Linked DNA regions of Homo sapiens: region 1 is linked to region 2. Evidence: promoter capture Hi-C in human tissues and cell types (Jung and others, 2019). All regions are on one chromosome and are shown on one strand. Each heading gives the region's core, a stretch centred on a gene start or on the middle of the fragment in contact. The rest is flanking DNA. Distances are from core to core; before and after follow the strand shown. Region 1 overlaps SHANK3 (SH3 and multiple ankyrin repeat domains 3). Region 2 holds the start of RABL2B (RAB, member of RAS oncogene family like 2B).

Region 1 (5,405 bases), core at 529-3,028, 56 kb after region 2:
GAGAGAGCAATGAGAGAGAGAGTTAGCCGGCCAGGCCCACGCGACCCACAGCTGCAACCACACAATGGGCAGCCAGGTGTGGAGGGAGGAACTCAGGTGCAGAGGGCCCAGCTGCTGTGGGAGGGACAAAGCTGGAGCTGCTGGTGGAGGAGAGGCGCCTGTGCGAGAGTCTCCAAGTGCAGGTGAACCACAAGCGTGGCTGCAGTGCTCGGCAGGTGCCTGGCCGCCTGGGGGTGCTGAGCCCCTGACATCCTCTTTGGCCGGGCCCCTCTCCAGTGGCCCTCCCACCCCCTCTCCCTGCCCCTGCCCAGGCTGAGTCCCCCCACCCCAACCTCTGTGCTGTCCTCACCACACAGCATCACCAGTCCCTGCCCCATACAGGCATGGGGCTCCCCTTAAAGGCTGTCCTCACCACACAGCATCACCAGTGCCTGCCCCACACACGCATGGGGCTCCCCTTAAAGCAGGTTTCGTCTTTTGTCTCCCACCTGTGAGAGGTCAGCCCTCTGTGGAGATCTGAGCTCTGTCTCTCCCATGGGACCTCATTTCTGTCCTCTCCTCAGCCTCTGTCCCTACTGCCTCCTCCCAGCTGCTCAGATCCAGAGCAGAACTTCCTGAAGAGGCCACACTGTGCCCCCAAACAGAAAGGGGCTTCAAGAACACCTGAGGTGGGCCTCAGCACAGGCACCAACCACCAGAATAAGCTGTCTTTGCTCCCATTGGACCTGGCCTCCATGGATCCACCTGCACAGTGGGCCAAAGTGGGGAGGCAGCCAAGGTTGGGGGGATTCCCAAGGGGAGGTGCCAGGTGGTGTTGGGTCGGGGGGTCCCCTGGGGGTGGGTGCCCAGGTGGTGGTGACTGCTGGAGGGGCTTGCCAGAGGAGACTCCGAGAGAATCACTCAGAGGGACCTGACTGTGGACACCCAGAGAGGGGCAGGACCAGGAATATGCACCTGGCCTCCACCCACCAGCCCCAACAAAGTGGCCCTGGCCTGGGGACCTGTATCACAGGATGGACACCTACCCTGGCCCTGCCCCTGCCCCAAGGCTTAGCTTTCAGTGGAGTTGTGATGGCAGGTGTACCTGGAGTCTCAGGTGTGACTGAAGCACACTGATGAGTTGCAGGACCACAGCAGTGAAGGCAGAGGCACAGGGCAGGCGCGGGCAGCGCAGCCAGGAGGCTCGGCCGGAGCCCAGAGCAGGGTCTGGGCTCCAGGAGGTCCGAGCTGGGCAGAGCAGAGTTGTGCCTGTCTGGGTAGTACTGGCAGGGGCTGAGCTGGAGACCTGGGCAGAGGGCAGGCTGGCTCCAGAGGCACCCACGGAGCCAGGGGCCCGAGGGCAAGAGATGTGAGGAGAGCCATTCACATTGCTCCCGCCTCCCAGAGCATGCTGGAGATGTCAGGAGGCCAAGAGAAAACGCCCAAGGAAGGCTGTGCCTGCCAAAGGCCCCAGGGCACAGGAGGGAGGGGCCTGGGGTCACCCATGGCCCAGGTGTCTGCTTCTCCTCTTTCTCTTGGGGAAGAGGGTACTGCCCACACCATCCCCAGGGCACAAACCCGAGCAGTGTCCATGTCTGACTTCCATGTTTCCATGGCCTCTCTGCACACCCACTGTCACTCTCAGCCGTCTGGCCACCTCCCTGGCCAGGCTCCGGCCGCCAAACAGCCACATCACAGCACCTGCCAGCCTCCCAGAGAGCTTCTGGGCCACCCACCCTCTAACACATGATACTTCACCAGGCACCGTCACCCACGAACACCTCCAGCAGCCACGCTGAAGAGGCTGAGTCCAGATCACACTGAGGCCCCCACGGCCCCACGTCTTTCCACCTACATTTGAATCCTGCACCGTCTCACTGTTTCCCAGTGACTCTCAGCCAGTGAGAGAGGTCTGGCCTTGCCACACCCTCCCCACTCCGCCCTCTGCCCCACAGTTGGCCAGGCGGTCAGCAAGACCCCGCTGCTGACCTGTTCATGTTTCCCTTCGAGACATTCTTTCCCAGGCCTCTTCCTTCCTAGATGGATTTTCGGAGAGCTCCCCTCTTAGTTTGCAGTTTCTCCTGGGCAACATTATCCACTCACACCCTTTGCTATGGCCAGTGTGCCCAGGAATGCTACATGTGAGACCCAGACAGCCTCTGATGAGTCCAACACCTCTACTGGGGTATCCACACATGTCCCTCCATCCCCAACTCAGTGAACGGCACCCTGTCATTGCCACACACAGAGCCTGGGAGCCACCATCAGCTCCTCTTTTTACCCTACAGCCAATGGCTAACTCCTAATATCAACCCAGACCTTCTCTTTACCCCTTGCCATTTCTGGATCCAGACCGTTCATGGTCTCAGGCCCTTCACCCCACTTCTTACCAGTTCTCCTTGCCTCCTGGTACCTAGCACAAAGCCAGGAATACGAGATGCACTAACAAAATGCAAAAATAGTATGTATGACATGTCCCTGCCAGGCGTGCCCAACTCAGTCAGCCCACTAGGGCCAACAGGCAGGAAAATGTCCACACTCGGGCCCGGGATACTGCCTCGGGCCTTCTGCCACTGCACTCACGTGGGGCCGGTCTAGGCCTGTGGCCTTTTGCAAACTAGGGGCCTCATTAAGGGAACTAATTCTCAGAGGAGCACAAAACCAGACATGGGCTCGGAAGCTTCCAGTGCATCCTCTGCGGTAACACGTCTTGCTCCTCGGCACCCCGCCTGTTCCCAGCTCCAGCTCTGATGGGCCCCAGTGTCCTATGACCCCTCCTCTGTACCTCCTTCCTACTCCCCGAACAGGGTTCAGGGATCCTGGGAACACACCTGCCCCAGCTGCATGTGGCCTGCAGGGGCCCCCACTGGCAGGTATGTGACACATTCAGTCTGGGTTTCAAAAGAGCAGGCCCTGCTGGCCTTGGCCCTGCTTACCAGTGTGATCCACCAAGCACACAGTGCTTTGTCCAGAGCCCTGACAAATATATTAGCAGGCAGGGTCTGCAGCAGGCCACCAGGGCAGGGCTTCTTGACCATTTTGAGGAACATGGGTCTTCTGGGAGACCTAGGAACTGACTCTAGCAGGTCTGGAGACCACGGCACACAGTGCCCTCCTCCACACAAGCTTGTCAAAGGCACCAGAAGTACTGCAGCAAAGAACCTCTTTTTGTGTTTCCAAAGCTACTTTGCCATGAACTTTACCTACAAAACCAGATGTGAGAGTCCCATGTAAAGCTAAGTGCCAAGGCAGACGTGAGCCTTACTATGGACCTCAGACCCCACATGGGATTCAGATCCGAGCACGGGGCCTGGAAGACAAATGGAGTTTAGAGCCAGGTGTGAAGCCAGGGTCTCAGAGACAAGTGAGAGCCTCAGACAGATGGGGTGCCTGTGGCCAGTTGTGGGGCTCGGAGTCAGGTCTGAATCATGCCCAAATGTAGCCTCAGAGTCAGGTGTGGGGCCCAGAGACCGAGGAGGGGCTCTGGGCAGATGAATGGTCTGTCCAGCAGAGCTAGACTTGGAGCTGGGAGCACAGAGCAGGTGGACAATCTGGGATCGAGGATTCAAAAGGCCGAAGGTCCTGGACCTTCCAGAGGCAGCATGAGAGTGCCACATCCTCCAGGTTCCCCTGAAAATCAAAGGTGGCCCCAGAGCTCATCATTTTTCCACAGGTTACCGAGCTTTGGTTCCACGACATACAGGACAGCTTAACTTGTCCAGAAAGCTCTCAGGCCACAGAACACCTTGTGGCTAAAGCACATCAGGAATGAGCCATCTCTGGAAAAGGTGGGTGGGCATTCCCTTCCTCATGGTGTCGGTCAGGGAGGAGAAGGATGGGCCTGGGAGACAAACACTGTGGAACACAAGGGGCTGGAGACACAGCTCAGGGTATGGCCCTGAGGGTGACCTAGCGCCTCTGCCACGACTGGCCCTGGGAAGGAAGCAGCCATACCTGGATGTCAGAACCTCCCACACTTTAGGCAGTTCCACCAGCAGTTTTATCCCTAAGTGAGCAGTGAGTACCGGACTCCAGCCATTAGGGGCCGCAGGACAAGAGCTGACAACAGCCACGGTGGGCACACAAGGACCAGATCTGAAACAGGACTGGACTCAGACATCACCAAGTGTCCTGTGCTCCGCTCCGCTGCCTGCAGCCAGAAGCACCGGAAGTTAAGGGCCCAGGGTGGGCAGGGGCCCCTCCAGATGGCTGTAGTTCAGCCCAGGTCTGAGGGCGAGAAGGAGCGCAAGAGGGTGAAAGGAAGAGTGAGCTGGAACAGAAGGTAACACAGAGGCAAACTGAGAAGGAAAAGCAGGCCCGGGTAGGCCACTCAGGTGGCACCAGGTGCTACTTATGACAAACATGACCAGTAAACAGCGGGGGTGAGTCTGTGCCATGCACACACCTGCCACTTCTGTGGAGGGGCGTTACTGGGCAAAAGCCCATTGTGTGTCATCAGAAGGGGCTTAACAACAGCGGCCCTGGTTACGGCAGCCAGAGAGCAGGGCTCATGGTCAGGCAGACCACCGTTTTCTGTCTGCAAGGAAGCTCTCTGGTACCTCAGTTTCATTGTCTGGAACATGAGGATTCTGTTAGTGTCCGTCTAACAGAACGGTGTGAAGACAAACTGATACGGCAGGACCGTCTCCAGTGCTGCATCCAACAGGCTTGTTTTCCCACAAAGGACTCTAAGACCTCACCTAGGTGTCGTCAGTGACAGCAAAGACAATGGCAGCTCACACCAGTGAGGGGTCCACAGGCCCCAGCCCTGGGCCTACCAGGTGCTTCACAGGTGATGCCGTGTGCAGCCTCGCGATAGCCTGTGCAGTTGGCTCGCTGTAAATACACTTCACAGGGGAGGGATACAGCACTAAGCTGTGACCTCCTGAGCACCGACATCAGGGCCCTCTGATGGCTCCAAGCCAATGACCGGCAAGGAAGTGAGTTGCTGATGCCAGTGGGGGCCGTGTCACAGAACATTGGTTGCTACAGGCTGTCCAGCATCTACTTACTCAAGGGACAGCACTGGACTTCCATCTGGAGAGCCCCCTCCCCTCACTCTCAGCACCTGCTTGCTAGGTGGGCGGACCCATCCCCCTGGCTCCTGGGAGAACAGAGGACTCAAGCTTGGCCGATGACAGCCCTATGTCCCCAGACCCCAGTGATCAGTCAGGGAAAAGCAGAGGACCCACATGAACCCAATCAGAGATCAGAATTTTGCAGGAACTACTGAGTAAAAGAACAGACGTCACGTAAGGGTCAGGGCTGCTGGTCTTGTCCTTCCCCATCCCACATCTGAGAAAGAAAAACAAACAGGGTCCTGGTGAAAGCCAGAGCCAAGGGCTAAGAGAACCGTACCCTGATCAAGACAGAATGCTAAAGAGCACCGTGGGAGGATGAACTCAGAGAAGGGGAAGTGCCAGAGG
Region 2 (5,143 bases), core at 410-2,909:
CCTCCTAAATGTCTCCCAAATCCACTTCTCTCCCTTCACTGTCCAGGCCACCAGCATGACTTCTGCATGTGTGTAGCAGCCTCCGCGCAGGACGTAAAGATGCAAATCTAGTCGTAGGCTCTCTGAAAGGAAAATTTTGGGGACCCAAAATTACTAAGCTAAAGGAAAAGTCAAGCTGGGAACTGCTCAGGGCAAACCTGCCTCCCTTTCTATTCCAAGTCACCTATCTCCTCACTAAGATAGGTGCATATCTGATTCCCTGCTTTGGAGAGGCTAATCAGAAACTCAAAACAATGCAACCTTTGTCTCTCACCTACCTGTGACCTTGGAAGCCCCCTCCCTGCTTCCAGTTGTCCCCAGCTTTCTGGATGGAAGCAACGTACTTCTTACATATATTGATTGATGTCTCATGTCTCCCTAAAACCAAGCTGTGCCCTGACCACCTTGGGCACATGTCGTCAAGACCTCCTGAGGCTGTGTCACGGGTGCACCTCTTTCTAAATTACCTGAAACCATCTCAGATAGGGTTCACACATCCCTTTCCCAAACCCTCCCAGGAGCCCCTCGTGGGCGCCCAGGTCCTGCGTGCTGTTGTGGCCCAGGCTCACCTGGAGCAACTCGACTCTTCGTTACAGCCTCGTGAACCTTTCAGTTCCTAAAGCTGTCTAGCCTGTGAAAGGAAAATGAATCTGGGGGCCCCAAAATCACTAAGCTAAAGGGAAAAAAGCTGGGAACTGCTTAGGGCAAACCTGCCTCCCCATCTATTCAAAGTCACCCCTCTGCTCACTGAGATAGGTTAATATGTGATAGCCTCCTTTGCGGAGGCTATTCAGAAACCCGAAAGAATACAACAGTTTGTCTCTCACCTACCTGTGACCTGGAAGCCCCCTCCCTGCTTCGAGTTGTCCCGCCTTTCCCGAGGGAACCAACGTTCATCTTACATATATTGATGTCTCCTGTCTCCCTAACATGTATAAAAGCAAGCTGTGTCCCGGCCACCTTTGGCACATGTCAAGACCTCCTGAGGCTGTGTCACGGGCGTGCGTCCTCAACCTTGGCAAAATAAACTTTCTAAATTGACTGAGACCGTCTCACATATTCGAGGTTCACAAGCCCATGCATGGGGACGTCCCCTGGGGTAGCGCCCCTCCTCCACTGAGCTCACTCGCTTCCCCCTTGTGTGTTTTCTTCAGAAGAAATTTCGCAGCTACTTGGTCCACACCTGTCTGCCCCACAGGAACCTCTCTTCTCCACAGGCACATGGGCGGCGTACCTGCTGGGCTGTGTGGAGAGGACCGGGTTCCTCTCCTGATTCCTGCTCAGTTAATAACGAATGTCGACAAGTCGAGAAAATTGCTCAAATTTACCCCATCAAAGAATTAAAAACTGGTGAAAGCTTGACCTGCGCCCCCCACCCCTGACGTGCTCACCGCTCCACTCCCTCTAGGCGGGCGGCACCCGCTGAAGCCTCGGTACCACACCCACAGCCAGGAGCCCCAGTCCCGCACTCGGCCGCATGCGCACTCCCTGCGGCCCTCCCGCCAGGCGCCGCGCTGGGCAGCCAGCGCCCCGGCGGGGTCCTTCAGGCCTTCGGCCGGGCAGCCTCCCTCGGGGTCCTTGTGCGGTTGCGTAGCAGCTGCGAGGACGCGGGCCGAGCCGGAAGTGGAGTGCGCTGCGGCGCGAGCTGGGCCGGCGGGCGTGGTTCGAGAGCGCGCAGAGTCCAGACTGGCGGCAGGGCCCGAGGGGCCGACCCGCAGCGTCCCTGGTCTCTCCAGCCCTCACTCGGAACCGCACGTGAGGGCAAATCCGCCCCGGTGGCTGGCTTAGCACGCGGGGACAGCCCCTCCGAGGCCTCCCTAGCGGTGTGGGCGAGAGGGCGTCCGGGTCGGGGGAAGCACGGAAAGGTGGCTTCGCGAGGCTGTTGTGGGGGGCGGGACGGGCAGCCTGGCGATGCCTGGACATGGTTGGTGGCCAAAAACATTTATCGAAAGATAGCTTACCCACTTAGATGGCAAGGACACGGACAAGCAAGTCTTCGCCCGTAAGCGGTGGCTCACGCCTATAGTCCAGGGATGCCGAGGAGGGAGGATCGCTTGAGTCCAGGAGTTGGAGGCTGCAGTGAGCCGTGATCGCGCCACCGCACTCCAGCCTGGGCGACAGAGTGAGACCCTATCTCTAAACAAAAGAAAGAACGTCTTCAAGCATGGAGCCATGAAGCTGGATTTGGCTTTCTGTCGCTCTCTCTACAGGGTACAGGTGAAAGGGGGCAGACCCCTCATCATGCTTTCCAGGCATCTGCCACTTCCCAGGAATTGTCTCCCTGGATAAACAAGGCGAAGTCCCTGGCTGTGCAGAAGCAGTAGCTGTGTGGTGGCACAGTCAGGAAAACTCGGGGGCCCTGTTGGTATTTTCTACCCCTGACCCGTGTGCATACTTCTGTCGTAGCTCTCACCACAGTAGACTCTGCTATCATTGTGTCTTCCATCCTCTGAACCCTGTGCAAGGTCTGCTCATGGTGAATGCCCAGTAAGGCTCACCTATTGCTGCTGTCTCATCATCATATCATTTCTATGTGCCCCCCTAGCTAAGAGTCTGGACTGTGGTTACATTCTCAGGAATGTTTGCAAAGTCATATTTAGGTGTGAGGAGAGTAAAACAGAGCTAGACATAATGTTGCACACAGCCTTTGGCACTGGATGCCTGGTGAATGTCTTGTGCAAATGGGTAACGTGAGGAGCAGCATTTGGGGTGCGCAGGACTTAACTATTTGTGTATAACATATTATTGATGCCTGTGTGTCATACTCTGCTACTCCAAGTCTAGTAGTCAATTGCATACCATATCTCAGTCTGGCACTGAGGGAAGCAGTCTGGAGGGAGGTACAGCTGGAGATTTGGTTGAGGGGACTTATCTCTGACAACAGCCTCTTGTTGATCTTCCCAGACAGTGACAATACCCTCCCCTCCCTTGGGCTGGACCCCTCTCTACAGCTAGGAGCCAATGGCAGAAGACAAAACCAAACCGAGTGAGTTGGACCAAGGGAAGTATGATGCTGATGACAACGTGAAGATCATCTGCCTGGGAGACAGCGCAGTGGGCAAATCCAAGTATGTTGGGAGATTAGGGAATAAATACCAGCCCCAGAGAGGGTCCAGGTCATTTAAAAAGTCCTCCAGAGGCAGAGGAGCATGGCTTCTTGGGGCTGGTGAAGGAGCAGTCTTGGCTGGAGCCCAGATGTTCATGGGGGAACGAGGGGAATCACGTGAGCCGTTGTGTGTGTCAGGTGGAGGGGGCAGGTCATAAGGACTGAGGAATTTGAATGTTTCCTCTGAGCCCTGAGAGAACGTGTGGAGCAACTGAGGACATTGTATGTGGTTTGTGGGCTGAGGGATGGCAAGGGCGGGGAGTGGGAATGGAAAGACAAAAGTGACTATGCCACCGTGACAGATTGGGTAAAGGTGGTAAAGATGCTTTCTTGGAGGGACTCTCTGAAATAGAGAAAACTGGGTAGAACTGACGATTGACTATAATCATTGTGAAGACTGGCTTCTTCTTGTAATGAATTTCGGTGCCTACGTGCCACCCGGAGAGGTGAAGGGAGGCTCTGCCGTGCTGCCAGCTTGTCTCCATGAGACGTCCTAGTTCTCACGCCTAGGACTGCTGAGGGCACATGTCCATTTCTGCCTTCATAGCATGACGGTACACTTGCCCCTGCCCAGAGAAGTGGTCACGTTTATCTCCCAAGTACTCCAGGCCCACCTTGGTTTCTACCTTCATTTTTATAATCAAGTCCTTTGACTCAGGTAGCTGTGAATAATTCTCTGGGGGCTTTGCTGGTTTTTAGGCCATCTCCATGAATTTGAATTCTCTGTCTCTCTCTCTCTCTCTCTCTCTTCCCCACCACACAATCACATACTGCAGCTCTGGTTTAGTTTTTTTTTTTTTTTTTTTGAGACGGAGTCTCGCTCTGTCCCCCAGGCTGGAGTGCAGTGACGTGATCTCGGCTCACTGCAAGCTCCGCCTCCCGGGTTCACGCCATTCTCCTGCCACAGCCTTGCGAGTAGCTAGGACTACAGGCGCCTGCCACCACACCCAGCTAATTTTATTTTTGTATTTTTAGTAGAGACGGGGCTTCACCTTATTAGCCAGGATGGTCTTGATCTCCGGACCTTGTGATCCGCCCACCTCAGCCTCCGAAAGTGCTGGGATTATAGGCATGAGCCACCGCGCCCGGCCTCTGGTTTAGTATTTTATAGTTACTTTGACCATCCTCAACAGCACGCCTGTACAGTAAAAGTGAGGGTAGGTGTTGTAGTTTGGGAAGGTTACCCAATAAATAACACCCCCTTTATCCCCACTCAAGTTTAAAAACAACAAAGAATAGAAATGGCAGGCAGGTGTAAAGCAAATTGCCACTTTAATAACAAACAGAACTTTCGGAGAATGTATCTTGGTATACCCAGCTCCCAAGTTCAATGCTAGTCTCTTTATATGCCTCATTTCAAACAGTAACAAAAAATAAGAATCCAAGTAGTTAACTTGACGTCAAAGATTACCATAACATTGGCCTCCACAGACACAACAATTAGAAAACAAGGCAGTCTTCATCCACTAGCAGTATCTCAGGCAAAAGGTTGTCCCAGATACAAAGACCATGGTGGAAACAGTGCATCTGAGGGAAGGTGAGTGCATGAGAACACTGTGGTTCAGTTTTGACTGGACTCAAGAATTACTGCCAATTTTCAGTGTCTCTAACCTATGAATCTAAACTCAGTTGGGCTAAAACACCCATTAAGAGGTTAACACATCCAGGCTGTGGTGAGCTATGATTGCGCCACTGCACTCTAGCCTAGTGACAGAGCAAGACCCTGTCTCAAAAAAAAAAAAAAAAAAAAAAGTTAACACTTGTGTTCATCATATCTGAAGGGCGTCAGTTGTACACGGCCTCATTTCTAGAGAGCAATGTTGTGGCAGTGCGGCCTTCTTGCAGAGTTCAGAAATTTACAACAGTAGCAGCCCCAGTCACCAGGCTTTCTTTAAGGTGCCTTTTTTTTTTTTTCTCATGCAGCATGTTCATGCTTCTTGATTCCACTCAGGGCTCTGTTGGAGGGCTCTGATGACAGCTCCCCTACCCCCTGTGAAC

The links. The method cuts DNA at HindIII sites, captures the fragments that hold promoters and counts their contacts. A contact is called where the count stands out against the background at its distance.
Region 1: a fragment that was not itself captured here is called in contact with the fragment with the promoter of RABL2B in region 2 in 2 of the 25 tissues and cell types used here (dorsolateral prefrontal cortex and mesenchymal stem cells).

What each region holds. Positions count from the first base shown.
Region 1 is chr22:50,724,244-50,729,648 of GRCh38, reverse strand. All of the region lies in intron 24 of SHANK3 (SH3 and multiple ankyrin repeat domains 3), which reads right to left. Among named protein-coding and RNA genes, the nearest start is that of ACR, 11 kb to the left of the region's middle. RefSeq lists an enhancer at 5,327-5,386. The HindIII fragment of the contact is 4,655 bases long and covers 1-4,105 here.
Region 2 is chr22:50,780,152-50,785,294 of GRCh38, reverse strand. RABL2B (RAB, member of RAS oncogene family like 2B) reads left to right here and starts at 1,659. Exons shown (of 9, transcript NM_001130919.3): 1 at 1,659-1,794; 2 at 2,948-3,107. The coding sequence starts at 3,001. It also overlaps the pseudogene RPL23AP82. RefSeq lists a silencer at 1,488-1,727. The HindIII fragment of the contact is 9,824 bases long and covers 27-5,143 here.